3 separate regions of the Homo sapiens genome follow, and all the other regions are linked to region 1. The links are contacts of gene promoters, found by promoter capture Hi-C in blood cells and fetal thymus (Javierre and others, 2016). All regions are on one chromosome and are shown on one strand. The core of a region is centred on a gene start or on the middle of the fragment in contact, and the rest is flanking DNA. Distances in the headings are between cores, read along the strand shown.

What was found. The method cuts DNA at HindIII sites, captures the fragments that hold promoters and counts their contacts. A CHiCAGO score of 5 or more calls a contact.
Region 2: a contact is called between a fragment that was not itself captured here and the fragment with the promoter of TAS1R1 in region 1, in 4 of 17 cell types (fetal thymus, neutrophils, erythroblasts and 1 more). The highest score is 5.4, in fetal thymus.
Region 3: a contact is called between a fragment that was not itself captured here and the fragment with the promoter of TAS1R1 in region 1, in 1 of 17 cell types (neutrophils). The highest score is 7.6, in neutrophils.

Annotation. Positions count from the first base shown.
Region 1 is chr1:6,553,503-6,557,792 of GRCh38, forward strand. TAS1R1 (taste 1 receptor member 1) reads left to right here and starts at 1,805. Exons shown (of 6, transcript NM_138697.4): 1 at 1,805-2,062. The coding sequence starts at 1,872. NOL9 (nucleolar protein 9) reads right to left here and starts at 1,011. Exons shown (of 12, transcript NM_024654.5): 1 at 605-1,011. The coding sequence starts at 1,000. RefSeq lists a silencer at 717-976. The HindIII fragment of the contact is 19,423 bases long and covers 1,300-4,290 here.
Region 2 is chr1:6,673,049-6,677,338 of GRCh38, forward strand. All of the region lies in intron 3 of DNAJC11 (DnaJ heat shock protein family (Hsp40) member C11), which reads right to left. Among named protein-coding and RNA genes, the nearest start is that of DNAJC11, 27 kb to the right of the region's middle. The HindIII fragment of the contact is 706 bases long and covers 2,225-2,930 here.
Region 3 is chr1:6,652,295-6,656,584 of GRCh38, forward strand. It overlaps DNAJC11 (DnaJ heat shock protein family (Hsp40) member C11), which reads right to left. Exons shown (of 16, transcript NM_018198.4): 5 at 1,617-1,745; 6 at 535-657. Among named protein-coding and RNA genes, the nearest start is that of THAP3, 30 kb to the left of the region's middle. The HindIII fragment of the contact is 2,975 bases long and covers 873-3,847 here.

The sequences.
Region 1 (4,290 bases), core at 555-3,054:
TGAGCTCTCAGTAATTGCAACCTTTTTTTTTTTTAACTATTAAAATCCCTTTCAGAGTTCCAGGTGCGGTGGTTCACACCTGTAATCCCAGCACTTTGAGAGGCCGAGGCGGGTGGATCACAAGGTCAGGAGATCGAGACTATCCTGGCTAACATGGCGAAACCCCGTTTCTACTAAAAATACAAAAAATATAGCCGGGCGAGGTGGCACGCGCCTGTAGTCCCAACTACTCCGGAGGCTGAGGCAGGGGAATCGCTTCAACCCGGGATGCGGAGGTTGCAGTGAGCCGAGATTGTGCCACTGCACTCCAGCCTGGGGGACAGAGTGAGACTCTGTCTCAAAAAGAAAAAGAAAGAAAGAAAACAAAACAAAATAAAGTCCCTTTAGCTCGTAAGGCCTAGGGACCCCTTAGCAGGGTACCTGTTACCCTGCTGCTCAGGGGAGCCTAGTTGCCACCAACCATCAAGAGGATGGACTTGAATCCGACTGGCAGCCAGAGAACAGGCCCGGGGGACCACGGTCCTCTCCTACCCTGCAGCTCTCCCGGGGCTGCCTCTCCAGCCCTCCCTGCCCTCGGGGACTACTACCGGCGCCCCCCACCTACCTGCTCGACCGGCAGCAGCAGCAACGCGCGGCCGGGGCCCACGGGCCGCACCGGTGGGATGAGGAGAGGCCGGTGGCAACTCGAGGCGGATTCGAGTTCGGGTTCGGACTCGGGTTCGGAGGCCGGGGTCGGGCTAGGGATCGGGCTGGGGGTCGCGGTGTTGGGTCTCCGGGCCGCCGCCGCGCGCGACACCTGGCGGGCTCCCTCCCTCCAGTCCACGCCGGACGCCTGGGCTTGCAGTAACCGCCACCGTAGGCGCCGCCGACCGCACCAGCGCAGGCTCCCGAGCCGGCGGCGGGGCCGGCGGCTGAGGATGAGCTGGGGCCGGGCCTTGCGGACCCGCAGCCAAGTGGAACGGCAGGAACCCCGCTTTAGCAGCAGTCCCGAGTCCGCCATGCTGGGTCCTCAGGGCCTACCGCGCGAGAATCTCGCGAGATCCCGTCGGTCCGCCCCGCTGCCCTCCCAGCTGCCGAAAAGAGGGGCCTCCGAGCCGCCGGCGCCCTCTGCCGGCAACCTCCGGAAGCACACTAGGAGGTTCCAGCCGATCTGGTCGAGGGGCTCCACGGAGGACTCCATTTACGTTACGCAAATTCCCTACCCCAGCCGGCCGGAGAGAGAAAGCCAGAAACCTCGCGACCAGCCATGGGCCACCTCTCCGGAAAAACACCGGGATATTTTTTTTCTCCTGCAGAAAAAGCTTTAGGATTGGCAGTTTAAACAAAACATGTCTATTTGCATACCTTCGGTTTGCATGCATTTGTTTCGAAGTGAGCAACCCTGGGTAACAAGGCGAAAGTATATGACAATTTGCTCAGAATCTTAATGTCAGAAAACTGGAGACTGGGGCAGGGGGGTGTCGACTCAAAGCTGTGTCTCATTTAGTAAACTGAGGCCCAGGTAAAAAGTTCTGAAACCTCGCAACACCCGGAGAAATTGTGTTCCAGCCTCCCACCTCGCCCCAAAATGCCAGAGCTCCTTTTCTAAGCCAGGTGAAGTCACAGAGCGTGGACAGAACCCACAACCGTCCAGAGGAAGGGTCACTGGGTGCCACCTGGTTTGCATCTGTGCCTTCGTCCTGCCCAGTTCCTGAGTGGGACCGCAGGCCCGGAATGTCAAGGCAAACAGTCCTGCTTCAGCCACTGGGCTCCAGTCCCACCCCTTTTGGGGGCCTGAAGTTAGGAAGCATCCGGCAGCTGCCTTCTATTTAAGCAACTGGCCTCCTTAGAGGCCACTCCTTGGCCATGCCAGGCGCGGGCATCTGGCCAGCATGCTGCTCTGCACGGCTCGCCTGGTCGGCCTGCAGCTTCTCATTTCCTGCTGCTGGGCCTTTGCCTGCCATAGCACGGAGTCTTCTCCTGACTTCACCCTCCCCGGAGATTACCTCCTGGCAGGCCTGTTCCCTCTCCATTCTGGCTGTCTGCAGGTGAGGCACAGACCCGAGGTGACCCTGTGTGACAGGTGAGTGAGGGGCCAGCAGAGCCACACTTAGTGGGACCCCTGGCTATAGGGCCCCTCTGGCTGCCATCCTCCAAACAGGACCTTGCCTCTGCCTTTGCCCCTTGAACTGTCCCCAGGCCTTGTTCATCAATCCACTTGCCACCTAAGTGCTGGCTAGACCTTCCTAGACACTTCGGCCAGTTTCCAATTATTTCACCCTTGCTGTTAGAATGTGTTGTATTGTAACTTCATTGAAATTGGTTCTTGGCTTTGTACCATACCTAGGTGGCCAGGCCTAAGCAAGGGCAGCTTTTTCCCTCTTCTTTTTTTTTTTTTTTTTTTTTTTGAGACGGAGTCTCGCTCTTTCACCCAGGTGGGACTGCAGTGGCGCGATCTCAGCTCACTGCAAGCTCCGCCTTCCGGGTTCACGCCATTCTCCTGCCTCAGCCTCCCGAGTAGCTGGGACTACAGGCACCCGCCACTGCGCCCAGCTAATGTTTTGTATTTTTAGTAGAGACGGGGTTTCACCGTGTTAGCCAGAATGGTCTCGATCTCCTGACCTCGTGATCTGCCCACCTCGGCCTCCCAAAGTGCTGGGATTACAGGCGTGAGCCACCGCGCCCAGCCGCTTTTTCCCTCTTCTATCTTCTCTCCACTCCTACCCATGTTCAAAGTTCCCTAGAGTCCCAGATGACAAGTAGGATTCTCCATGGTTCTTCATGGGGTGGGAAGGGAAGACACATCCCATTAGATGCTTTAGGAGCTTGACAAATATAAATTAGGTTGGTGCCATCATGAAGTCAACAATCTAGGTAGAGGGAAACTACTGCTTTTCTTTTATTTCTATCTATCTATCTATCTATCTATATTTTTTTGAGATGGAGACTCAGTCTGTCATCCAGGCTGGAGTGCAGTGGCATAATCTTGACTCACTGCAACCTCCTCCTCCTGGGCTCAAGTGATTCTCATGCCTTAGCCTCGGGAGTAGCTGGAATTATAGGCATGTGTCACCATACCCAGCTAATTTTTGTATTTTTCGTAGAGACAGGGGTTTCACCATGTTGGTCAGGCTGGTCTCGAACTCCCGACCTCAGGTGATCCGCCCACCTCGGCCTCCCAAAGTGCTAGGATTATAGGCTTGAGCCACCGCGCCCGGCCTGCTTTTCTTTTAAAGAAGACAGTTGCAGCCGAGCACAGTGGCTCACGCCTGTAATCCCAGCACTTTGGGAGGCTGAGACAGGCGGATCACGAGGTCAGGAGTTCAAGATCAGTCTGGCCAACATAGTGAAACCCTGTCTCTACATAAAATACAACACATTAGCCGGGTGTGGTGGTGTGCACCTGTAATCCCAGCTACTCAGGAGCCTGAGGCAGGAGAATCGCATGAACCCGGAGGTGGAGGTTGCAGTGAGCCAAGATCACACCATTGCATTCCAACCCGGGCGACAGAGCGAGGCTCCATCTCAAAAAAAAAAAAAAAAAAAAAGACGAAGACAGTTGCTTGCAGACTGTGGAAGTCACAGACCCAGAGGCCCAAGAATGCTGCCGAGGCTTGGCTGCAGGATGTCCTACCCATGAAGCACACGAGATGGTTGGCTCAGGAAGAAGTTTCTGGAAATCTAGTGTATGACGACCTACTCGAAGGGCTACAGCTAGAAACCTGGATAAAGAGATAAAGAGAATGGGCTGGGAAGAGAGATTGGGTAGAGCAGGAGGAGGGAAGACATGAAAACCGGCTTCAGATACCTGAAGAATTGTCTCAGGCAGGAGGCACGAACCCTCCGTTGAGAGACTCGGGACAGAAGTGGTAGAAACCATGGAAGACCTTCTAACAAGCAAGAGGCTGGAAAATGGAACAGGCTAGCACACTTTATGTATTTGTTTGTTTATTTGTTTATTTATAGAGATGAGGTCTTGCTCTTTCCCCCAGGCTGGAGTGTAGTGGTGCAATCATAGCTCACTGCAGCCTTACTTGGGCCTCATTGAAGCTCAAGTGATTCTCCTGCCCCAGCCTCCCAAGTAGCTGGGACTACAGGCATGCACCACCACTCCTGGCTAATTTTTTAATTTTTTGTTGAGAAGGTGGTCTCACTGTGTTGCTCAGGCTGGTCTCAAACTCCTGGTCTCAAGTGATTCTCCTGCCTGGGCCTCCCACAGCATTGGGATTCTAGGTGAGCCACTGGGCCAGCCATTACAAAAAAGTTTTTTTGAGCTGGGATCTCACTATGTTGTCCAGGCTAGTCTCCACC
Region 2 (4,290 bases), core at 1,328-3,827, 120 kb after region 1:
TGCTGGGCATGGTGGCGGGCGCCCATAATTCCAGCTACTCGGGAGGCTGAGGCAGGAGAATTGCTTGAACCTAGGAGGCAGAGGTTGCCGTGAACGGAGATCGTGCCACTTCACTCCAGCCTGGGTGAAAGAGCGAAACTCCATCTCAAAAAAAAAAAAAAAAAAAAAAAAGGAAAAGAAAACCGACTCAGCCCAGGAGTTCCAGACCAACCCGGGCAACATAGTGAGACCCCATCTCTACAACAAAAAAACAACCACCAAGAAGACTGACTTTATTGATGAAAGGAATGAGGAGATATCCAAAAGCTAGGTGGCATAATGGAAGGAGGACAGACAGGACCTCAAACCTCCTGGGAGACCTCAGGCAAGTCACCTTTCTAAGCTTCAGTTTCCCTGCTATAAAATGAGGAGGGTTAAGCGACATCATTTGAAAAGTGTCATCTGGTTCTAGCTAGTAAACTTTTTCTTCTGGGATAATTTTAGAAAATGATTTGGAAACGCTACAACAACAGTACAGAAATTTCTAGTATAGCCTGCACCCAGGTTCCCCCAATGTTAGCACCTTTTATAACCATGGAAGAGCTCTCAAATCTCAGAAACCAACATTAATACATTTCTACTAATTAAACCTAGGGTTCAGATTTCACTAGATTTTCTACGAACATCCTTTTTCTGTTCCAGGATCCAATCCAAGATTCCACGTTGCATTTAGACACGAGGTGTCCTTAGTCTTCTCTGCTCTGTGACAGTTCTAAACCTTTGCTAGTTTTTCATGATCTTGACCATATTACTGCTTTTAATACAGGCTGACTTTCTCATATACTATAAAACCGATGTCAGAGACAGGGAAAAGTAAAATATAAATAATGTAAAGGACTGCAGACAAAAACCAAACTGCAGATGATCTGGGCCGAAGGATGCAACTCTGGGTGTAATCTAACATCTGAAAGTGACACCTGCAGGAGATGAGTTACGTGGTTTCCATGGCAGTTGCCAGCCATTACCAGAATCAACCCTGTCAAAGTATTCACAGTTCAAGGTTAGATTTTTGCCATTCTGAAAAAATGACCAATTTCATTTTCAATGTGGATATCTGCACAAACATCACTAACCAACCTCAAGAAGTAAACAGTATGGCTGGTTTTATAAGTTGGGAATGGTTACATCTCATTCCTTGGGAATCCTCCCAAAGAATAACAGTCTCTAGAAGCCTTAAAAAAAAAGTGGGGGGGCTGGGCACGGTGGCTCACATTTGTAATCCCAGCACTTTGGAAGGCCAAGGCAGGAGGATCATCTGAGGTCAGGAGTTCGAGACCAGCTTGGCCAACATGGTGAAACTCTGTCTCTACCAAAAATACAAAAATTAGCCAGGCATAGTGGTGCGCACCTGTAATTCCAGCTACTCGGGAGGCTGAGGCAGGAGAATCACTTGAACCCCGGAAGCAGAGGTTGCAGTGAGCCAAGATCACGCCACTACACTCAGCCTGGGCAACAGAGCAAGACTCCGTCTCAAAAAATAAAAATAAAAAAATTAGCAGGGCGTGGTGATGCATGCCTGTAGTCTCAGCTACTTGAGAGGCTGAGGTGGGAGGATGGCCTGAGCTGGGAGATCGAGACTGCAGTAAGCCACGATCGTGCCACTACACTCTAGCCTGGGTGACAAAGTGAGACTCTGTCTCAAAAAAAAAAAAGTCTGAAAATTTACCTAATGACTGACAACTGGGCCAGTATTTTGTACATTCTAAAGAAGCTCCAGGGTTGGGGAGTGATTTCTAGTTGGTGGAGTACTTTGAGATCTTTGGATTAAAGGCGTCTCAGACACTCAGGATACCAACAGTCAATGCCCTTCACCCTTCACTGACTACCCATATGGTAGCCTAATAAATATGTGGTAAATGGATACCCTTCAGCAACTGAAGAGTTTAACAGTCTAAAAATACCAGCAACAGCATGAAGGGAATACAGCTTCCTCCCTGGAGTGAAAGCTATTATTGCAGTGAGAGAATCCTCATATGGAACAATCCATCCAGCTGTAGGAATTCCTTGAAGGAATGTTGATGCCAGCTTCATAGAATGTGCTTGAGTTCAATGAGACTTTCTGTGTATTATGAATAATGGGCTCAATTTTCCTATTGGATGTTAAGCACTAATACATATCCGAGTAAATATCTGGGGAGGTGTCTTCATTTAGTTTTCTTTGAAAGCATTTTTATCTTGCAGCAAAAGCTTAGTATCCACATGAAAAAAAAAAAAAAGCCAATTCTGATCTATGAGAACCTGACTTCCTTAGTTTACTAAAAAAATACGAAAATAATGTTTAACCACTTGCCACCCACGACTGTGCACTTATTTTTATTTTCATTTATTTATTTCATTTTTTATTTTTTGAGACACAGTCTCACTGTCACTCAGGCTGGAGTGCAGTGGTGTGATCATGGCTCACTGAAACCTCGACCTCCTTAGGCTCAAGCGATCCTCCCACCTCAGCCTCCCAAGAAGTAGGATTACAGGCACTCACCACCATGCCTGGTTAATTTTTTCATTTTTTATCGCTTGTAGAGATGCGATCTCACTGTGTTGCTCCAGCTGGTCTCGAACTCCTGAGCTCAAGTGATTCTCCTGTGTCAGCCTTTGAAACTGCTGGAATTACAGGTGTGAGCCACTGCACCCAGCCCTATATATTTGTATAACCACCATTTTGCGTGTGGATTTGCTTTGTTTCTAATGGGAAGATAATCTGGTCTGATGAGAGGAAGCCATACAATATTCTACCAGCAGACCCCAGTGCTCCACTGATTGGGATAATGCTGCTGGGGACTAAAAACCTAGTCTTTGAAGAGGGAATATGTAATGGGGTCCTACAGCTTTTCAGTGACTCCAATTGCTGACTTGAAAAATTGTAGCCAACCCACATCTTAAAAAAACAAAGAAGCTTTAAGGAGTGTATAAAGAGTGACGGGGAAATTGAATAAATACAACAGAATTCTACTTTCCTTTTTGGATGAGAAAATGCTAAGTTATTTGGCTTAATACCTAGCTGCAATGAACCAATGTGACAGGAAGCACTGCTATTCCCATCAAGCCAGAGGCCAAATACCAACTGCCCACTGGAGCCAGGAGGACATGCAGATGAGAAGAGCCAGACATAACGCAAGGGGGAGTGGTGGGGACTGGGACAAATTGGACAGCCCAGCCCCATCTGAAGGGCAAGGGCTCCTCAGATCCACTGTTACCAGATCTTCAGATGTTTCAAGAAAAGACAGAAGACTGAATTATCATGCAGAACCTCCCAGGGTTGAAATGTTAGCAACTAGAATTCACTGTGTGAGGCAATCAAAAAATGGCAACAGGCTGGGTGCGGTGGCTCACACCTGTAATCCCGGCGCTTTGGGAGGCTGAGGGGGGAGGGTAGCTTCAGGCTAGGAGTTTGAGACCAGCCTGGGCAACATAGAAAGACCCCATCTCTACAAAAAATTTAAAAATTAGCTAGGCATGGTGGTGTGTGCCTGTAGTCGCAGCTACTTGGGAGGCTGAGGTAGGAGACTCACTTGAGCCTGGGAGGTCGAGGGTGCAGTGAGCCATGATGGCACCAACACACTGCAGCCTGGGCGACAGAGCACGCGCGCACTCTCTCTCACAAACACACACACACACCAAAAAAGGCTATTAGTGGAATATGGCCCATGAGCCACCAATATGAAGCAGTAGTGGAAAGGCAGGAAAGGAAATAGGATCCTCTTTTGCTTTTCTTCCACTCCTCATCTGAAGGCCTTTACAAGGCTTTGATGCCAGAACTGGAAGAGACAGGCACGCATGCTTGAGACTAAACATTGAATGAACTTTGGCCAGGTGTGGTGGCTCATGCCTGTAATCCCAGCACTTTGGGAGGCCGAGGTGGGTGGATCGTCTGAGGTCAGGAGTTCGAGACCAGCCTGACCAACATGGAGAAACCCTGTCTCTACTACAAATACAAAATTAGCTGGGTGTAGTGGCGCATGCCTTGTAATCCCAGCTACTCAGGAAGGCTGAGGCAGGAGAATCACTTGTTGCAGTGAGCCAAGATTGCGCCACTGCACTCCAGCCTGGGCAACAAGAGCAAAACTTGGTCTCAAAAAAAAAAAAAAAACAAAAAAAACGAAGGAACTTCAAGGGTAATCTTACATGATGGTGAAAATATAACTCAACGAGGGTCAATTCAATGTTATTAAACAGACTAGCAAAATTTATTGGGCATCAGAACCAAGTTTCTTTCTTTTTTTTGTGAGACAGGGTCTTGCTCTGTTGCCCACG
Region 3 (4,290 bases), core at 1,110-3,609, 99 kb after region 1:
TTGCTCAAAGGGAACAAACACACGGAGTTTCAGAGGCTGGATTTCTAGAAGTTGGCATCTCATAGGAAACCTTGTTTTTCTATGCCAATTTTAAACTGTGAGGAAGACTGACAGGACTTCTCAGATATGAGACCTATTTATTTATTTATTTTTGAGACGGAATTTTGCTCTTGTCCCCCAGACTGGAGTGCAACGGCGCGATCTTGACTCGCTGCAACCTCTGCCTCCTGGGTTCATGTGATTCTCGTGATTCTCCTGCCTCAGCCTCCCAAGTAGCTGGGATTACAGGCAGGTGCCACCATGCCCAGCTAAGTTTTGTATTTTTAGTAGAGACGGGGTTTCACCATGTTGGCCAGGCTCATGAGACCTATTTTTCTTTTAGGACCAGTCAACTTATGGAAGCTTGACACTTGGTACCGTTCTTACACAACAACGGGGCCCCCAGGGTGAGTTTGAGGGTGAGCTTTGAGAGTGTAAATGTTCAGAAATAAGGCTTTGCACAGACAACACAACTCAGCCAATAGACATTCTTACCTCTCCCCATCCCTTTGCCGAAGTTACTCGTCTGAGCGCAAAGTTAATGGAACCTCCTCCATTTCCATTCTGGGTTGAGAGGCTTCCAGAGAGGATGGCTGTGTCTGTCGCTGTCAAGGGTGCCTAAAAATGGTATTTGCTGGTAATGAATGAATCAAAACAACAGGAAGTGCCAATGGCAGCAGCCTAAAGAACGCACTGTGAGCCCAAGGCCAAAGGTGCAGACGATTCCTCTGTTCAGAAGCACACATGGATGCAGAACTGCCGCAACAGCTTCACTTTTCTTCCGCTTTGTTATTTGGTCTGCATGTGACCACGAGGGTAATATGCTTTGCAAAAGCTTTAATGGGCACATTTCACAACACCAGGGGAAACATGGGGCTGCATGTCCCAATGGTATCAGATAGCACAGTGACTTCACTGTGTGCCTTCCCTCTGTGGTTTGCCATCAGGGTTCCAGGGGGACTGAAGACCTTCCCATGGCTGTATTCTGTATCAACTGACTCAGGGAGCTCCAAGAGGGGGCAAATTTCCCCAAGTTAGGACTCCACGTTGTTGGCTGATGCAATGGAGAATAAATTAATGAGCTGAGGAGACAAAGACCTACTATAAACGCTCAGGAGAATGACCTGACCTCGTCACATCCAAATAGTGGGCAGAATGGTGACATTTTCGCGTGCCCAGGGCTCAGGATGAGAGCTGCTATAGCCTTGCGGCACCTAGCAGAATTTGCCTTAAAACTAAAACTGGTTGTTAGAATGATCCATGGAGGTCTGCTTTCTCTCCCAGAACCCCATGACCTTGGGCCTCTACTTCTCCCAGACCATTAACACCCTCTGCTGGAAAGGCCCAAGACCTTGGGAGCCAAGTGCCCCAGCCCACACTCCTGCTGGCTCACATGCCAGCACAGCGGTAACACACGGCTGGGAATGAAGCGCTTTCTTTTTTAAGTGGCTAATTGCATCCTTTCATAAATAAAGATGAGAAAAACCCTGGGCAGACTCTCATTCCAGCTGCTTGGTGTGCTGTGCCTCATTAACTCGAGCCCTTGCTGTACTCGGAGAGGTGGTTGTGTGCTTTACCTCAATGGACTGGGATATGTGCATTTTATTAATTTCAATCTGCGGAAAGCTACTGCCGGACACATCTTCATACTCCTCATCATAGCGATCAAAAAGGTCGGTGGCATCTACTCCAACGCTGATCGTTCCCTGGGGCAGAAAAACAAGCCGTCAGCAGAACGGGTGGTATTTGTGGAATGAAAGACAATGCTACACTTCAACAGCCAGCTCGCTTTAATTGAACAAGTCATTTGACTTCAGGGTTCACTGGGTTTAGGTAGGACACTCCACCAGGAAGCCCACAAAGCATGAATGTCACAGTCCGAACCAAACTGCAGAGCACCACAGACGTCCAGAGCTAGAAAACATCATTTGACCAGGAGAGCCGGTCCGCATGTCTGCAGAGCAATGACACGCCAAAGACAAAAGTGTTAGTCAAAGGAGTAAGAGCTAGACAGTTTGATTTTCAGAGACCAAACAGGACCCAAGAATGCACAAAACCACCTAGAAATGAGCTACATGGATTAAACATTTTTTGGTAAACAACCTTATACCACAAAACTACCCTAAAACTCTTTAAATAAAAATACCTTCAAAGATAAAGCAGCACAAATTATGAACAAATGGGAGACTTTAAAATTAATCCACCTTCTCAAATTAATGAGAATTAAGTTTGAGAAACAGAACACTGTATTTGCTCAAGGAATTCTAAGCTAAAATTTTGCTGATAAAAATGCTTGTTACTCAGAAAATCAATGTTTATTATTCTTTGATAGTCACAACTTTAAAAACGGACATTATCTTAATCCAGTATATAAAACCATGGCCACACACATTTTTTTAACTAAACTTTTTGCAGCCCATTGAAACAATGTTTTTTTGCTAGCTTTTCTTTTTTTTTTTTTTTTGAGATGGAGTCTCGCTCTGTCACCAGGCAACATTAGCCATTAGTCCAGTGCAGTGCAGTGGCACGATCTTGGCTCACTGCAACCTCCGCCTCCTGGGTTCAAGCGATTCTCCTGCCTTAGTCTCCCGAGTAGCTGGGACTACAGGCGCACGCCACCATGCCCAGTTAATTTTTGTATTTTTAGTAGAGACAGGGTTTCACCATGTTGACCAGGATGGTCTCGATCTCTTGACCTCATGATCCACTCGCCTCGGCCTCCCAAAGTGCTGAGATTACAGGTGTGAGCCACCGCGCCCAGCTGGTGCTAGCTTTCTATCAGATGCTTCAATCTGAAAATGCATTAACCCTAATAATTACTTGATTTCTGTTGAGGGTGAAACACCTGACATTATGAATGCTACTATAAACTCAATCAAAAAGTTCCACATTAAAGGTAAACGTGTTTGTTTTTGCGGTGATATTCAAATACCAACTTGGAGGCAGTATAGTGTTATGGTAAAAAATTTTCTTATTAAATCAAGAAACCCATGGACTAGAAACATCCTTAGAATTAGTTGTAGTGATACGCATAATGCATAATTGTGTCAAAACAAGCTGTGGTATTCTACCCATGGAAAATGAAGTTGTAGTTGCCAAAATTTACAAATTTTTTATATTCACAGAGTAACAGCATGAACACATCTCTGTCATGATGATGATTCTGAATAATCAACAAAACTGCATGGCAGTATATGAACAATCTGTGGCCAGGTGTGGTGGCTAATACCCGTAATCCCAACACTTTGGGAGGCTGAGGGAGTGGGATCACCTGAGGTCAGGAGTTCGAGACCAGCCTGGCCAACGTGGTAGAAACCCTGTTGCTACTAAAAATACAAAAATTAGCCAGGTACACGTCCCAGCTACTCTAGAGGCTGAGGCAGGAGAACTGCTTGAACCTGAAAGGTGGAGGTTTCAGTGAGCCAAGATTGCGCCACTGCACTCCAGCATGGGTGACAGAGCAAGACTCTGTCTCAAAAACAAGAACAGGCCGGGTGTGGTGGCTCATGCCTGTAATCCCAGCACTTTGGGAGGCCGAGGCAGGCGGCTCACGAAGTCAGGAGTTTGAGACCAACATGACCAACATGGTGAAACCCCATCTCTACTAAAAATACAAAAATTAGCCGGGCGTGGTGGTGCGCACCTATAATCCCAGCTCCTCAGGAGGCTGAGGCAGGAGAATTGCTTCAACTTGTGAGGCAGAGGTTGCAGTGAGCCAAGATTGTGCCACTGCACTCCAGCCTGGGCAACAGAACAAGACTCCGTCTAAAAAAAAAAAAAAAAAAAAAATTACAATCACTGAAAATAAAGCTTGTAATGAAAAATAATCTGAAGCTGATCTTTTTAGGGGGAAAAAAACCATACAAAATAAATAAGAGTTTATGAGATATAATGAGATACAATTTTGAAATTCCATAACGGCATTTTGGAGTATCTTTATTTTGTGTAGGAATCTTGGTGGAGCTGTCATGTTTAATTAGGTAAATTTATATTCTGTTCAAGAATGAAATGGAATTGAAAAGGTCTACAGTTTTATAGCATCTAAATTTGATAAAACATTCAAAAGATCATAAATAAAGATGATTTAGAAAAATGTGTCAAAGAAAACTGTTGTGAATAAAGTTAAAAAGACAATACCTGTCAAAATACTTGGGCCAAGATATTTTTATGTTCTAATATGAAGAAATTTAGAATTGAGAGAATATTTTCTAAATTAAAAATATGATATACAGAGATGAATCAATTAAATGT